Linked DNA regions of Homo sapiens: region 2 is linked to region 1. The links are contacts of gene promoters, found by promoter capture Hi-C in human tissues and cell types (Jung and others, 2019). All regions are on one chromosome and are shown on one strand. Each heading gives the region's core, a stretch centred on a gene start or on the middle of the fragment in contact. The rest is flanking DNA. Distances are from core to core; before and after follow the strand shown. Region 1 holds the start of MMD2 (monocyte to macrophage differentiation associated 2). Region 2 overlaps RBAK-RBAKDN (RBAK-RBAKDN readthrough).

What was found. The method cuts DNA at HindIII sites, captures the fragments that hold promoters and counts their contacts. A contact is called where the count stands out against the background at its distance.
Region 2: a contact is called between a fragment that was not itself captured here and the fragment with the promoter of MMD2 in region 1, in 2 of the 25 tissues and cell types used here (IMR-90 fibroblasts and lymphoblastoid cells).

The regions. Positions count from the first base shown.
Region 1 is chr7:4,954,162-4,962,025 of GRCh38, forward strand. It overlaps MMD2 (monocyte to macrophage differentiation associated 2), which reads right to left and starts at 5,026. Exons shown (of 7, transcript NM_198403.4): 1 at 4,810-5,026. The coding sequence starts at 4,856. The HindIII fragment of the contact is 48,661 bases long and covers 1-7,864 here.
Region 2 is chr7:5,048,429-5,056,292 of GRCh38, forward strand. The region is part of intron 2 of RBAK-RBAKDN (RBAK-RBAKDN readthrough); the gene reads left to right. All of the region lies in intron 2 of RBAK (RB associated KRAB zinc finger), which reads left to right. Among named protein-coding and RNA genes, the nearest start is that of RBAK-RBAKDN, 6.5 kb to the left of the region's middle. The HindIII fragment of the contact is 3,136 bases long and covers 2,166-5,301 here.

The DNA of each region.
Region 1 (7,864 bases), core at 3,776-6,275:
GTGGTATCTCATTTTGCATTGTCTTGGTTACCACTGCGAGGGAGCAGTTCTTCACATGCTCACCTGTGTTCTCTTCCAAGAAATCCCTGTCCGTGTCTTTTACATTTTCTATTTGGTTATTTGTCTTTTTCTATTTCTTATTCTCTATATATTTTGGATATTAATTACTTGTTGGTTAAAGGTGTTGCAAATATGTCCTTTGCACTGTGGCTTGTCTTCTACTTTCTTCATGGCATTTTTGATTAACAGAAACTTAATTTTTTTTTCTTTTTTTGAGACGGGGTCTCCCTCTGTCACCCAGGCTGGAGTGCAGGAGCTCAGTCTCAGCTCATTTGCAGCCTCGATCCCCAGGCTCAAGCAAGCCTCCCACCTTAGCCTCCTGAGTAACTGGGACTACAGGCACACTTCACCATGCCCAGCTAATTGTTTGTATTTTTTGTAGAGATGGGGTTTCACCATGTTGCCCAAGCTGGTCTTGAACTCCCGGACTCAGGTGCTCCTCCCACCTCGGCCTCCCAAAATGTTGGGATTACAGGCATAAGCCACCTTGCCCGGCTGCAACTTAATTTTTAATGTAGTCAAGTTCATCAATCTTTTTTTTATGATTTGTACTTTATGTGCCTTCAGAACCTTACCCCAAAGTTCAAAAGTTATTCTTTTATAGATTCTCAAAGTTTTCAACTTTTTAATTTATTTCATGTTTACATCTTTCATCCCTCTAAAAGTGTCTTTTCTGTATGGTGTGAGGTAGGGTTCCTATTCCACTGTTCTCATCTGAATAATGAATTGTCTCAGTACCACTTATCCAATAGATCATCCTTGCCTAGGTTTATCAGCAACACCATCTTTGGTAAAAATAAAATGCCTTTTAAAAAGTTGAGATGGGATCTTGCTATGTTGCCCAGAGTGTTCTCAATCTCCTGGCCTCAAGTGATCCTTCCTGCCTTGGCCTCAGGTGTAGCTGGGATTACGGGCACGTGCTACCACACACAGCTTAAAACACCTTTACATGCATGAATCTATTTCAGGCCTCTTTATTCTGCTCCATTCGTCAATTTGCCCAGCCATGCACCAACACCATACTGTCTTAATTCTTACAGCTTTATGATATGAATGTTTCTTGATGTAGAAAAGCCATTCCAGGTGACCAGGTGGTTACTTACATCAAAGACTCTAGGTTAGAACCTAGGGGGTTAGCTGGCCTACCACCCGCTGAGAAACAGAGACTCCAAGAAGGACAGCATTTTTTACAATGTCACACAGAATTTAATTTGGAATACCCATCTCTCACCACAGAAGATACCAATACGGTAGACACAATCTACATGTGGTTATTGAGCACTTGGAATTGACTAGCCCAAATTCAGACGGGCTGTAAGTATAAAATGCACATTAGATGAAGACTTGTGGGGAAAAAAATGTAAAATATCTCCTAAATAATTTGTTCATATTCATTGTATACTGATATAATAATGCCTTGGATATAAAGAGTTAACTAAAATATATTCTAAAAATTATAATAATTTCACCTGTTTATTTTTACTTTCTTATAACAAGATGGAATATTAGGCACACATTAAACTGAGTGTCTACTAGAAAATTTAAAGCTGGCCGGGCGTGGTGGCTCACTCCTCTAATCCCAGCACTTTGGAAAGCCAAGGTGGGTGGATCATTTGAGGTCAGGAGTTCGAGACCAGCCTGGCCAATATGGTGAAACCCTACCTCTACTAAAAATACAAAAATTAGCCAGGCGTGGTTGCGGGCATCTGTAGTCCCAGCTACTTGGGAGGCTGAGGCAGGAGAATCGCTTAAACCTGGGAGGCGGAGGTTGCAGTGAGCAGAGATTGCGCCATTGCACTCCAGCCTGGGTGACAGAGTGAGACTCCAACTCAAAACTAAATAAATAAAATAAAGCCACATCTGTGGCTTGTATATTACTCATGGACAGCCCTGGATTATACCATTAAATTCATTCAATCAGCTGGGTGCAGTGGCTCATGCCTGTAATCCCAACACTTCAGGAGGCTGAGGCAGGAGGATCACTTGAGCCTAGGTGCTCAAGACCAGCCTGGGCAACATAGTGAGACCCCATCTTTACAGATACTTTTTTTTTAATTAGCCAGGCATGGTGGTGCACACCTGTAGTCCCAGCTACTCAGGAGGCTGAGACAGGAGAATCATGTTTGCCTAGGAGTTTGAGGCTGCAGTGAGCTATGATCACACCACTGCATTCCAGCCTGGGTGATAGAGTAGATCCTATCTTTAAAAAAAAAAAAAATCACTTAATCAAGAAGCCTTTACTACAGACCTAATTTGTGGACTGTACAGTTGTAAAGACTGCACAACGAGGAAGGGAACAGAAATAGAACTAATCCATGCGATCCATTTCCTCCCTGGACCCATCACCCATAGAAGCTGCATTGGCCCAAGCATGAAAGACTGGCCCGTGCTCCAGCTCCAGATCCCTATTCCAATTCCAGAGCAGCCAGCGCAAGTGTCCAAATCTAGAGACCATTTAGACCAGCTCTCATGACTTTACACATCAACCCACTGGGGTCAAGAGAGGTTGAGACATCTACCAAGGTCACACAGCAGGTGTGGGACAGGCCCGGGCTGGTTGCTGAGACTTCAGAGCTCCTTCCCTTCATGTCCACGTCGGCAGCCTTAAACCCAGGGTTTCTCTCTTTCCCGTGAACAGTCCACCAACTTACGTCTCACAAAATCCCCTGGAGCCAGCCTTTACAAGTCCAAGTGCCCACTTTGGGAGGCCGAGGTGAGAGGATCACTTGAGCCCAGGAGTTCAAGACCAGCTTGGGCAACATGGCAAGACCCCGCCTCTATTAAAAATACAAAAGTTAGCCAGGCTTGGTGGCAGGCGCCTGTAGTCCCAGTTACTCGGAAGGCTGAGGCGGGTGAATCACTTGAACCCGGGAGGTGGAGGTTGCAGTGAGCTGAGATCACGCCACCGCACTCCAGAGTCGGCAACAGAGTGAGACTGTCTCAAAAAAAAAAATATATATATATATATATAAATTATCTGGGTATTGTCGTGGTCCATACCTGGAATCCCAGCTACTTGAGGCTGAGGCAGGAGGATCGCTCAAGCCCAGGAATTTGAGGCTGTAGTGAACCATGATTGTGCCACTGCACTCCAGCCTTAGTGTGGGTGACAGAGCAAAACCCTGTCTCAAAGAAAAAAAACAAAGGCCGGGGGCGGTGGGTCATGCCTGTAATCCCAGCACTTTGGGAGGCCGAGGCGGGGGGATCACGACGTCAAGAGATTGAGACCATCCTGGCTAACGCGGTGAAACCCCAGTCTCTACTAAAAATACAAAAAATTAGCCGGGCATGGTGGCAGGTGCCTGTAGTCCCAGCTACTCGGAAGGCTGAAGCAGGAGAATCGCTTGAAACCAGGAGGTGGAGGTTGCAGTGGGCCGAGATCATGCCATTGCACTCCAGCCTGGGCAACAAGAGCGAGACTCCATCTCAGAAAAAAAAAAAAAGTAAGTCCAGTCCAGTCACACAATCTGGTCAACAGAGTCAATCCGCAGGAACTTATCCTCAAGTCCTTCCCAAGTGCATCACATCTCTGGGTGGGATTCCCCATTTAGGAGAGATAGACTCATCATGTCCCCCAGGGGGAAACAGAGGGTGAGACTGAGGGGGAAGGAAGGGTTCCGTCCTGTCCGCCAGCCTTCCCTACCCTGGACACCATCCTAGCCCTGAGCTCCTCTTGTCAAGCTGTGCTCAATATGACCAGAACTTGTGGAGACTTCAGGAGCACCAGGGCACTCTCAACAACCAGTTGCAAGTGACAAGCCACACTGATGTGAGTAGGAAGAATACTGCCAGCCCATCTCCCACTCACCACCCACTGGAGCCTCAGCACACACCAGGCCCCTCTGTTCACGAAGGCAGGGGACCCCAGGTGGCAGAGGGGGAAAGGTGACCTGGAGGACAGCCTGGTGCCCCCTCCAAAGAGGCCCCCGCGGGCTGCTCCCAGCAGACGGGTCTGTGCTCGCCGAAGACCACTGGGGACCGAGGAGCAACTTTAGGAGGGGATTTTTCATGCCAGCTTCCAGGCAAGCACATCTCCCAACAAAATCTTAAAGATATGTAAAAGGAGAAACCCCCTCCCCACGCCCACCTTCTTCACTGGAATTCCAAGCAACAGGAGCCTAACTTCTACTCAGATATCACAATGTCTGTTAATCACCATTTTACAAAAGAGACGGAGGTTCTGAGGGGACCACGGAGTTCACACTATGAAAAGACCAGGATGTACAGGTGCCTCCCCCCACCGCACCCCGAGCCTCAGTTTCTCCATCTGAAAAGAGCACTTACTCTTTCCTCCGACTTGCTGGAAGGGTGGACAGAGGTGGTACCAACGCCTTTTACCATGAACAAGAGTGCCCAAGAGAGACCGAGCGTAACTGCCCGAGCGTAGCTGGCCTGGGCTCCAGGCGCTGCGCAAAGTGCTCTGCAAGGACCAGCTCGCTTAATCCTCACGGCGACCCAGGACACGGGGACTCGCATAACCCCCGTTTTGCAAACGTGGAAATGAGGTTCAGAGAAGTGAAGCGACTTGCCCAATGGCACCCAGCGAGGAGGCGCGGGCGCCCCGGTTACTCCATCCCAGCGAGAAGACGAGGCTGCCTGGGTCCTGGTTTTCTCGGGCGGGGGTCAGGGGTCCGCCGATCCCCTCTAGCGCTCCGGGCGGCGGGGCCCGAGAACCAAGGTGGCCTCCGCGGCCCCCGCCGCCGCGCGCCCCTCCCTCCCTCCCCGCGGACCTCCGCGGCCGCCGCTCACCTCGCGTATTTCGTCTTCTGGAAATCCAGCAGCCGGGGGGCGAACATCGCGGCGCTTCCATGGGAATCTGGCCCCGGGCTCAGAGCGCGGGTAGCTGGCAGAGCCTGGGGGGCGCGGCGGCGGCAGCAGCAGGTTGGAGGGCGCGCGGCGGGGGCCAAGGGGACCTGGTCGGCGCCCGGAGCCGGAGCCGGAGCCCGAGCCGGAGCTGGAGGCGCCCGGAGCCGCCGACGCCAAATCCCGAGCAGATGGTGGCGGGGGCGGGGCGGGCGGGGGCACGGGGGGGCTCCCGGGCTCGCGCTGCCAATCGCCTAAGCCCGGCCCCCTCCCTCCCGCGACCCCGCCGCCTCCGCTGAGGTGGAGGAGGGTCGTGGGGAGATGGGGGGGTGGGAGAGGTGGGGGTGAGGAAGTGGGCGTAAGGAGTGGGGGCGGGACGGGGGGGGTCCTGGCTGCGCGCGCGAGCCACCCATCGCCCAGGCCTGGGGCGGCCCTGGCCCCGGCCCCTTTTCCCGGTGCCCTCCCTGGAAGCCAGGAGGTGGGGGGTTGGTGGGGTGGGGAGCGGGAAGTGGTAGTAGGGGGAGTGGGAAGGATTGGGAAGGCGGGGGCGCCAGGTGGGTGGAATGCAAAGTTGCGGGGCTGAGGGAGTCGGGGAGTGGGAAGGGGACGGGAGTGGGAACAGGGGGTGCTGGAGGGGTTGGGGGAAGTGGGAAGTGGGGGGTAAGGAGAGTGGGAATGGACGTGGGATGAGTGGGAAGTGGGGGCGTTGGTGGGGAGTGGGGGACTTGGGGGTGGGGGAGCGGAAAGTGGGGGGTTGGGGGGAGTGGGGGACCTGGGGGTGGAGGGAGTGGAAAGTGGGGGAAGTTGGGGGGAGTGGGGGACCTGGGGGTGGAGGGAGTGGGAAATGGGGGTGTTGGGGGGTGGAGGGAGTGGAAAGTGGGGGGTTGGGGGGAGTGGGGGACCTGGGGGTGGAGGAAGTGGGGGGTTGGTGGGAAGAAGGGGAACTGGAGGTGGAGGGAGTGGGAAGTCGGGGTGTTGGGGGGGGAGTGAGGGGGTTAGTGGGAAGAGAGGGACTCCGAGGTTGGTGGAGGTGGGAAATGGGGGTCTTGGAGGGAGTGGGGGACCTGGGGGTGGGGGGAGTGGGAAGTGGGGGTGTTGGAGGGAGCGGGGGACCTGGGGGTGGAGGGAGTGGGAAGTGGAGGAGTTGGTGGGGAGTGGGGGACCCGAGGGTAGGGGGACTGGAAAGTGAGGTTGGTGGGGGGTGGAGGGAGTAGGAAGTGGATAGGGGACTTCCCAATCCAGCCCCTTTTTCCCAGGTATCCTCCACCAGTACTTTTTCCAGTGAGGAGAAAAAAGCCCTCCAGGGCTAGACAGGGCTGGACCGACCCCGCTGGCCCCAACTTGGCTGGAAGGACAGCGGACACTGTGCCCGTCGTCCCCAGTGTAGCTGGGCCCAGCACCTACCGCCTGCCTGTGGCTTGCTTGCTCCCCCCACTGCCTGGCTCCCTACTGCCACGTCCCTGCTAGGCACAAGGGCCCCTATGGGACCTGCCCGGGAAGGGTCAGGGCCTCTGGGAAAACCCTCTTCCCCCAAGACTTCATGACTCTGAGGACCCTCCTGACCGCCATGACAGGGTCATTTGCATCTGGTGGCTGGATTCCCGAGTACAAATTCCAGCTTTCTCCCGTAGGAGACCTGGCCCAGGTTCTGGGCTTTGGAAAACCAACCACCCTATGGGAGGCTTGGAACCCCGGGGGGCTGATGGAGGGAAGACAGGCTTCCATGTGAAAGACATGCCAGCGGCACCTGAGGAACCCTAGGATTGGTCCCCAGATCCAAGAGAAGGCCCTTCGTTTGCACACACACTTCACCCTCCTTCCCAAGCCCCAGCCCCTATTCCTTTTTATTAATACAGTAATGCTTTATTTGAGATCCTGCTGAACATTCAGAAGATAACCCCACCCACTCCCTCTGCCCCCAGGGAGCTAGGACCAGAAGTGGGAAAAAGACAAAGGACTTCACCTTTTTTTCTTTTTTTTTTGAGACGGGGTCTTACTCTGTCGCCCAGGTTTGAGTGCAGTGGCGCCATCTCAGCTCACTACAACCTCTGCCTCTCGGGTTCAAACGATTCTCGTGCCTCAGCCTCCCAAGTAGCTGGGACTACACGCGTGCACCACCATGCCCAGCTGATTTTTGTATTTTTAGTAGAGATGGGGTTTCACCATGTTGGCCAGGCTGGTCTCAAACTCCTTGACCTCAGGTGATCTGCCCGCCTCAGCCTCCCAAAGTGGGGAGATTACAGGTGTTGCTGACTCCATCTAATTTATTTCGCCACTTCCACTGGGGAGGACCAGAGGGTTATAAGTAGATGCCTTCAGAGGCCATGGCAGGGCTGAGGGCTGGGGGGTGGGGTGGGGGATGGCTGAGGTGGGGACCAGAAGAGGGAACAGGAGTGCTTAGGAGGCAAAGGCCACCAGACCACCCTGATGATGGATTAGAAGTGGCAGATGCAGCCGGGCACGGTGGTTCATGCCTGTAATCCCAGCACTTGGGGAGGCCAAGGCAGGCGGATCACGAGGTCAAGAGATCGAGACCATCCTGGGACTATAAGTCCCAGCTACTCGGGAGGCTGAGGCAGGTGAATCGCTTGAACCTGGGAGGCGGAGGTTGCAGTTAGCCAAGATCGCGCCACTGCACTCCAGCCTGGGTGACAGAGCGAGACTCCCTCTAAAAAAAAAAAAAGAAAGAAAGAAAGAAAGTGGCAGATGGTCTCTCTCTCTCCTGGAGCTGAGACACTCTTCTGCCCTGGGACATGAGAACTCCTGGTTTTCCAACCTCTGCCTCCAGGATCTCAGCCTCCGTCCCAGCCTCATCTATCTATCTATCTATCTATCTATCTATCTATCTATCTATCCACCTATCTATCTATATTTTTTTAAGCCAGGTGGGGTAAGCCACTGCTCATGCCTGTGATCTCAGCATTTTGGGAGGCCAAAGCAGAAAGATTGCTTGAGGCCAAGAATTCAGGACCAACCTTGGCATGGTGAAACCCCATCTATA
Region 2 (7,864 bases), core at 2,484-4,983, 93 kb after region 1:
CTCCCAAAGTGCTGGGATTACAGGCATGAGCCACCGCGCCCAGCCAGGATTCATACTTTAAAATGGGAATGTGGAAATAGACATTGTCCTGTAAAATATAGTTAGTGTGGCAGATCAGCACCAAAAATGATTTGTGAAGCTTGTATGTGTGGATAGTAGATTTTAAGGCTGTTGAAATTGAGCCGCACCCAGGACTGATATTCTTGGCAGTCATCACAAAAGGAAAATGCCATCTGTATTAGTCCATTCTCACACTGCTATAGAGAAATAACCAAGACTGGGTCATTTATAAAGAAAAGAGGTTTAATTGGCTCACGCCTGCAGGCTCTATCATAGGAAGCATGGCTGGGGAGGCTTCAGGAAACTTACAGTCATGGTGGAAGGCAAAGGGAAAGCGGGTACATCTTCCATCACCAGAGCAGGAGGAAGAGGGAGGGGGAGGCGCTACACACTTTTAAACAACCACGTCTTGTGATAAGTCACTGAGTGTCAGGAGAACAGCACCAAAAGGGAAATTGCCCCCATGATCCAATCACCTCCCACCAGGCCCCACCTCCAACATTGGGGATTACAATTGAACATGAGATTTGGTTGGCGACACAAAGCGAAACCATATCACCATCCATGACATCATTTGCATTCATTATAAGGAGAAACCAACTTTGTTACTTGTGGATTTAAAAGATTTTCTAGGACTTGGAAAAATTTCTTCATTCAAGTTGATATAATTGCGGATAGCTTTCCTAATAACAACCATTAAGTTACCATAACTTATGGCTTATTCTTGGTGCTTATGTAAGCAGAGGGCCTGCCTGCTGCCCAAGGAGAACTTGGTGCATATAATTTTTCCAGGGAAGGAAACATTGTGATCCCAGTAGACAGAATTCTGTTTTTACTGTTGAGTCCTAGATCATGGGGGGAATGAATGACATGATCATCCTTCAAATATTTGTTCGTCTTTCAGTTTGGGTTGCACAGCAAACAATACAGTTACTCTCTTGTGAAGATTTCCTCATTTCTGTTTCTCATTTCAGTTCTCAGTGTTTTAGTTTTGTCCTTTTCACGTTGCTGAGTCAGTCTGTAAAGATTACCAGTGATTTCATTGCAGTCAAATCCAGAGGGGATTTCCTAGCCCCTACCTCCCAGGACCCTTTGTCTGCCTTTGACATCTGTTACTTCCAAACTGATACTTTCTCCATGGAGTCTCTCTTTTCTTGGCTTTTAAAAAGATTCGTCTGTAAGTATTTCTGCTTGTCTTTAAATGATGAAGTCTGTTTTGTTTTGTTTTGTTCTGTTTCTTTTTTTCTTTTTTTGAGATAGGGTCTTGCTGTGTCACCCAGGCTGGAGTGTAGAGACGTGATCACAACTCACTGCAACCTCAGTCTCCTGGGCTCACACGATCCTCCTGCCTCAGCCTCCTGCATAGCTACAGGCGCAAGCTGCCACACCCGACTAATTTTTTTATATTTTAGTAGAGACTGGGTTTCACCATGTCACCCAGGCTGGTCTTGAACTCCTGAGCTCAGGCAGTCTGCCCGCCTCGGCCTCCCAAAATGCTAGGATTACAGGCGTGAGCCACTGCTCCCAGCCTAGAGATGTATTCCCACTGTATTGCTCAGACTGGTCTCAAACTCCTGACCTCAAGCAATCCTTTCACTTTGGCCTCCCAAAGTGCTAGGATTACAGGTGTAAGCCACCACACCTGGCTAATAAGGAATCTTTTTGAAAGGGGCTAGGAATAACCCATAATACTCTCTTAATACATGTGGCAATTGGGTTAAATCTTTTAATAGTTCCTATATTATGTCTCTTGCGTGCTCATTGTTTTGAAGAAACTGGGTTGGTTATCCTCAGTTTGGATTGTGTTACCCTTGTTTCACCTTTAGCACATTTAAAAAATATATCTTTTATGCCTTGTTAAATTGGTAGTTTGATCTGGAAGTCTAATCAGGTTTATGTTCAATTCTTTTCACACAGCTGTACCGTACGTGGCATTTGTCTACTTCTGGAGGCATGTGTTACCTTCTTTGTTTTTGTGAACTTAAGAACTATTGACTGTTGATTATTGCTGTGATTTACTAGTTCATTAGGGGAGGCAAAATGGTGATGTGCTAATTCTACCATTTCTTCTTTATTTACTAGCCAAAATACCTTTCTTTTCTTTTCTTTTTTTGGAAACAGAGTCTCACTCTGTCACCCAGGCTGTCGTGTTTACGGCTCACTGCAGCCTCAAACTCCTGTGCTCAAGTGATCCTCCCACTTCAGCCTCCCAAGTAGCTGGGAGTATAGTCATGTGCCACAATGCCCAGCGAATTTTTTAATTTTTAGTAGAGACAGGTTTTGCTATGTTGCCCAGGCTGGTCTTGAACTCCTGGGCTCAAGTGATCCTCTTCTTTGACCTCCCAGTGTTGGCATTACAGGCATGAGTCACCACAGCTGGCCTAGAATACTTTTCTAAAGATAAATTTCTGTTCTCTATTTGGTTATGTAATTCATGCAGGAAAGACAGTTTCTAAAATGTTGAGTAGGCTTCTAAGCAGGAAGGTTTTTTTGTTTTGTTACCATTATGAGCTCGTGGGTTTAAACAGATAGTAAATATTTCAGTACATCAAAGTTGTGATTCTTTTTGAAAATTAAATGGCTCCATCTTTGGCCAGACAAAATCCCTTTAAGTTGGTTTCTGAGTCCTTTTGAAATATATTTGATATATTTGATAGCAAATCTATACATACAATATATATTTGATAGCATTATTTTCTGTTCAGCATTTTATTTTGAAATCATTTCAAATTTTCAGAAAAATTGCACGGATTTTACAAAGAAATCCCAGCTACTTCCTTTTGTTCAGATACTTCATTCTTAACATTTTCCCACATTAATCATTTATATGCATATATACATATATGTGTGTACATATTTTTATATATTTTTTTTCTGAACTGTTTGAGAGTGGGTATGATTTGTCATGCCTCTTTACCTTATAAAGTTTTAGATTATATCTCATAAAATCAAGAACTTTCTATTAAATACCCATAGCACAGTAATTGAATTCAGGAAATTTATCATTGATTTAATACTTTTATCTAAACTGTAGTTCATTTTCCAGTTTTGCCAATTTCCCAATAATTTCCTTTATAGCAATTTTTAATTTTTGGTAGAAGATTCAGTCTAGGACTGTCAATTGCCTTTAGTTTTCATGCTTTTTAAGGCTGTTTAATACGGATTTGTTCCTCAGTGCCATTATAATATTTGCAGAATACAGGCCAATGATATTATAGAAGTCTTTAAATTTAGGTTTCCCTGATCTTTCTTCATGATTAGATTTAGTTGGTGAATTTTTGTCTGGAACACTACATGGGACCTCTTAAATTTATGGCTCAGAATAGGATCTGTCTTGGGAAACTTCTGTGCATGCTTGAGAAGATGGCTTGTTCTGCTCTGGTTGGGTGGAGTGTTTGATAAATGTTAATGAGATCAAGTTGGTTGGTTGTGTTGTTCAGGTGTATTATATCCTTGTTGATTGTGTGCCTACTTGTATCAATTGTTGGGGAGAGGGGATTGAAATCTGCTGCATTTGTGGTTCTCTTTCTCTTTGCAATTTTACCACTTTTTGCTTTATGTATTATATTAGATACATAAATGTTCAAGGTTATTACATCCTGTTGATTAATTAACCACTTTGTAAAATGGCCTTCCTTATCCCTGCTAGTATTCCAGGCTGAAATGTACTTTGTTATTTATGTAGCATTCTTTTGAGTAATGCATGCATGGTATATCTTATTCCATCCTTTTACTTATAACGTATTTGCATCTTTATATCTAAAGTATTATTTCTTGTAGGCAGCAAGATTTGGATCTTGCTTGTTTTCATCAGTCTATTTCTGCCTCATAATTGGGGATGTATAGACTGTTTACATGTAATGTAATTATTGATAAAACTAGTTAGGTTATAGTCCATTGCCTTTGCTTTCTTTTAGTCTCATCTTCTTTGTTTCTTTTTAAAATGTCTTTGTTTGTCTTCCTTCCTCTTGATTAATTGATAATTTTTTATGATTCTACTTTATATCTTTTGTTGAGTTTTTAGCTATCACACTGTTTTGTTATTTTAGTGAGTTAGAATTTATAGTATGCAACTTTAATTATCATAGTTTATTCTTAAGTGATATACCATTTTTCTTAGAGTAAGAGAAGCTTACAATAGGATACTTTCATTTCTCTCCTCTTGGTCTTTACACCGTTGTTCATTTTATTTTTACAGGTGGTATCAGTGCCACACAGAATCTATTACGTTGTTGTTAATTAAACAGTTATCTTTGATTGATTGATTGATTGATTGATTGATTGATTTTGAGTTGGAGTCTCACTCTGTCCCCCAGGCTGGAGTGCAGGGGTGCGATCTTGGCTCACTGCAACCTCTGCCTCCCAGGTTCAAGTGATTCTCCTGCCTCAGCCTCCCGGGTAGCTGGGATTACAGACACCCACCACCACACCCGGCTAATTTTGGTATTTTTAGTAGAGATGAGGTTTCACCATGTTGGCCAGGCTGGTCTCAAACTCCTGACCTCAGGTGACCTGTCTGCCTCAGCCTCCCAAAGTGCTGGGATTACAGGTGTAAGCCACCACACCCAGCCCAGTTATCTTTTAAAAAGATTTAAGTAATGAGAGAAAATACACAGTTACCATTTCTGGTACTCTTCATTCCTTTGTGTAAATCTAAATTTTTATTTGCTGTCATTTTACTTCTGCCTCAAGGACTTTCTTTAACATTTCTTCTAGTTGATGAATTCTTGTACGTCTGCAAATGTCTTCATTGTGTCTTAGCTTTTAAAGGTGTTTCTGCTGGATATTTCTCCACAGTGCTTTAAATATGTTTCTCTATTGTCTTCCTGCTTACATTTTTTTCTAAGAGAAATCTGATCTCATATTCATCTTTGTTCCCCTGTATATAACATGTCTTTTTTTCTTTCCCCCCTTATGTTGTAAACTTTTTATCACTAGTTTTGGGTAATTTGATTGCAATATGTCATGGTATCATTTTTTTCATGTTTCTGTTTTGGGGATCACTGAACTTCTTGGATCTTGGGTTTATGGTGTCATCACTTTGGGAACATTTTTATCATTATTTCTTCACATACCCACCACCTCCCCTCCATTGATTCTTGTTGCCTGTATATTAGGCCACTTGAAATTTTCCCACAACACACTGTTGCTCTTTATTTGCTTTTAATTCTTTTTTCTCTGTTTCATTTTATGTAACTTCTGTTGCTGTCTTTATATTCACTAATCTCTTTTTTCCACGATGCTGTTAATCTTGTCCAGTATAATTTTCATCTCAGATATTGTAGTTTCTATCTGTAGAAGGTTAGCGTGGGTCTTTTTTACATCTTGCCTGTCTCAATTTTTTTGAACATGTGGAATAGAATGATGAACTCTCTCAGTGCTCTGTGTGGGTTGTAAACTCTGTCAATTCTGGGCCAGTTTTGATGGACTGATTCTTTTCTTCCTTATGGTTGTAATTTCCTGCCCATTTTCCCATCTCGCAACTCTTACACCTCACATCTGTCTCTGTTCTTCTTCCCTGCTCTGTGGCCTGGAAACACTCAAGGCAGAAGTTGATTGGTTCACCTTGTTTATTTCCCATCACTCATAGATAACTCTACTGCCTGATAATCAGTGCCTTGAAAACCATTGCTTCAGCCCGGGCGTGGTGGCTCATACCTGTAATCACAGCACTTTGGGAGGCCAAGGAGGGCAGATCACAAGGTCAGGAGTTTGAGACCAGCCTGGCCAACATAGTGAAACCCCTTCTATACTAAAAATACAAAAATTAGCCAGGCATGCTGGTACACGCCTGTAATCCCAGCTACTTGGGAGACTGAGGCAGGAGAATCGCTGGAACCCGGGAGACGGAGGTTGCAGTGAGCCAAGATTGTGCCATTGCACTCCAGCCTAGAAGACAAGAGTGAGACTTTGCCTCAAAAAAAAAAAAAAAAACCATTGCTTCATATATGTTCTCCGTTTTATTTTTCTTTCTGTTTTTGATTTTGTTGTTGCTGCTGTTCTTTGTTATGTGCCATTTCAGGTTGGAGGGTATATCCAGTACCTGTTAGTTTATCACAACTGAGGGCAGAAGTCCTCATGTCTCTCTCTATATATATTTTTTCTAATATATATATTTTTTTCTTTGTAGAGACAGGGTCTTGCTATGTTGCCAAGGCTGGTCTCAAACTCCTGGCCTCAAGCAGTCCTTCTGCCTCAGTTTCCTGAGTGCTGGGATTACAGGCATGAGCCACTGCACCTGGCCTGGATCCAGTTTTGTCCATGTCCAAATGGTGTTTTTCCCTGAGCTGTTTTTGATTTTCTTCCACCTCATATGAACTGTAGTGTCAGCTTATCTAGTTCCAGGAAAAAGCTTTTTGGTATTTTTACTGGGGTTGCATATTTATAAAGTAATTTAGGGTAACTGACTTACCCTAGGTAGGGTAAGTTGACCTTAATAATACAACTAATTTTTTTTGTTTGTTTGTTTTTTAGTAGAGATGGGGGTTTCACCATGTTGACCAGGCTGGTCTTGAACTCCTGACCTCGGGTGATCTGCCCGCCTCGGCCTCCCAAAGTGTTGAGATTACAGGCGTGAGCCACCGTGCCCGAGCACTTTTACTTTTTCTTAGTTATATTCCTCTAATTGTTTTATCTTCTCTAATTGTAGATAATGAGCATTTTATTAATACCTTGTTCTTGATCTTAGTAGGAAGGTATGTAGTTTTTCCCTGTTAAGTAAAATCCTGACTTTTGGACCGAGAAGACTGAGGCATAAATGTGTGTGTGTGTGTGTGTGTGTGTGTGTGTGTGCGTGCGTGTATATACACACAAACTGTATATATATGTGCTTGTGTGTAATTGAAATACATATGTCACATATATATCATACATACTATTGCATATTAGGGTGCAATATTTATATTTGTGTATATACATGTTATTGATGTTAATGAAGTATCCATCAGTTTCTATTTTCTTTAGTTTGTTTTTTTAAATCAGCTTTTTCTGTCAAGCTTTTTCAGGTATCTTCACGGATACAAGATTTTTCTTCTTTGCTGTGTTATAGTGGCTTATCATATTAATAGATTTCCAAATATTAAACTAGTCTATATTATTGGAATAAGTCCCATTTGGCTATTGTATATTATGTTTTTAATCTGGTACTGGATTTTGTTTGATTATGTTTCATTTTGGGTTTTTGTATTGATGTAAGTGGTATTGGCATGTAATTTTATGTTATTTATTGGTTGATCAGTCTTCTAACCCCTACTACCTCCTTGCCTTCTGGACTAACTTAACCCAGAAGGTTATTACTCTCTCTCGGTGATTTTATCAGCTCCTGTGGCCTGACTGTGGATAAGCTTGGATGTTCTGCTTTAGTTTCTCAGCCCACAGCCTAGCGGCCCTGCCTCTGCTATCTCTTGGGATCTACATGGTCCTAGCTGTATCACTGGATTTGAACCCCTTGTTGATATGTTCTTTATAAATAATAGGATAATGCAGCCTGCTTACTGGGCACTTCCTTTTTCTAAACTACAAGTTTGGGCAGGGCGTGCTGGCTCAAGCCTGTAATCCCAACACTTTGGGAGGCCAAGGCAGGTGGATTGCTGGAGCCCAGGAGTTTTGCATTTTTCTTTTTTTTTTTTTTTTTTTTTGAGACAAGGTCTCACTCTGTTGCCTAGGCTGGAGTGCAGTGTTGCATTCACAGCTCACTGCAGCCTTGACCTCCCAGGCTCAAGTGATCCTCCTGCCTTAGCCTCCCAAGTAGCTAGAACTACAGGCGTGTGCCATGATGCCCAGCCAATTTTTTTTTTTTAATTTA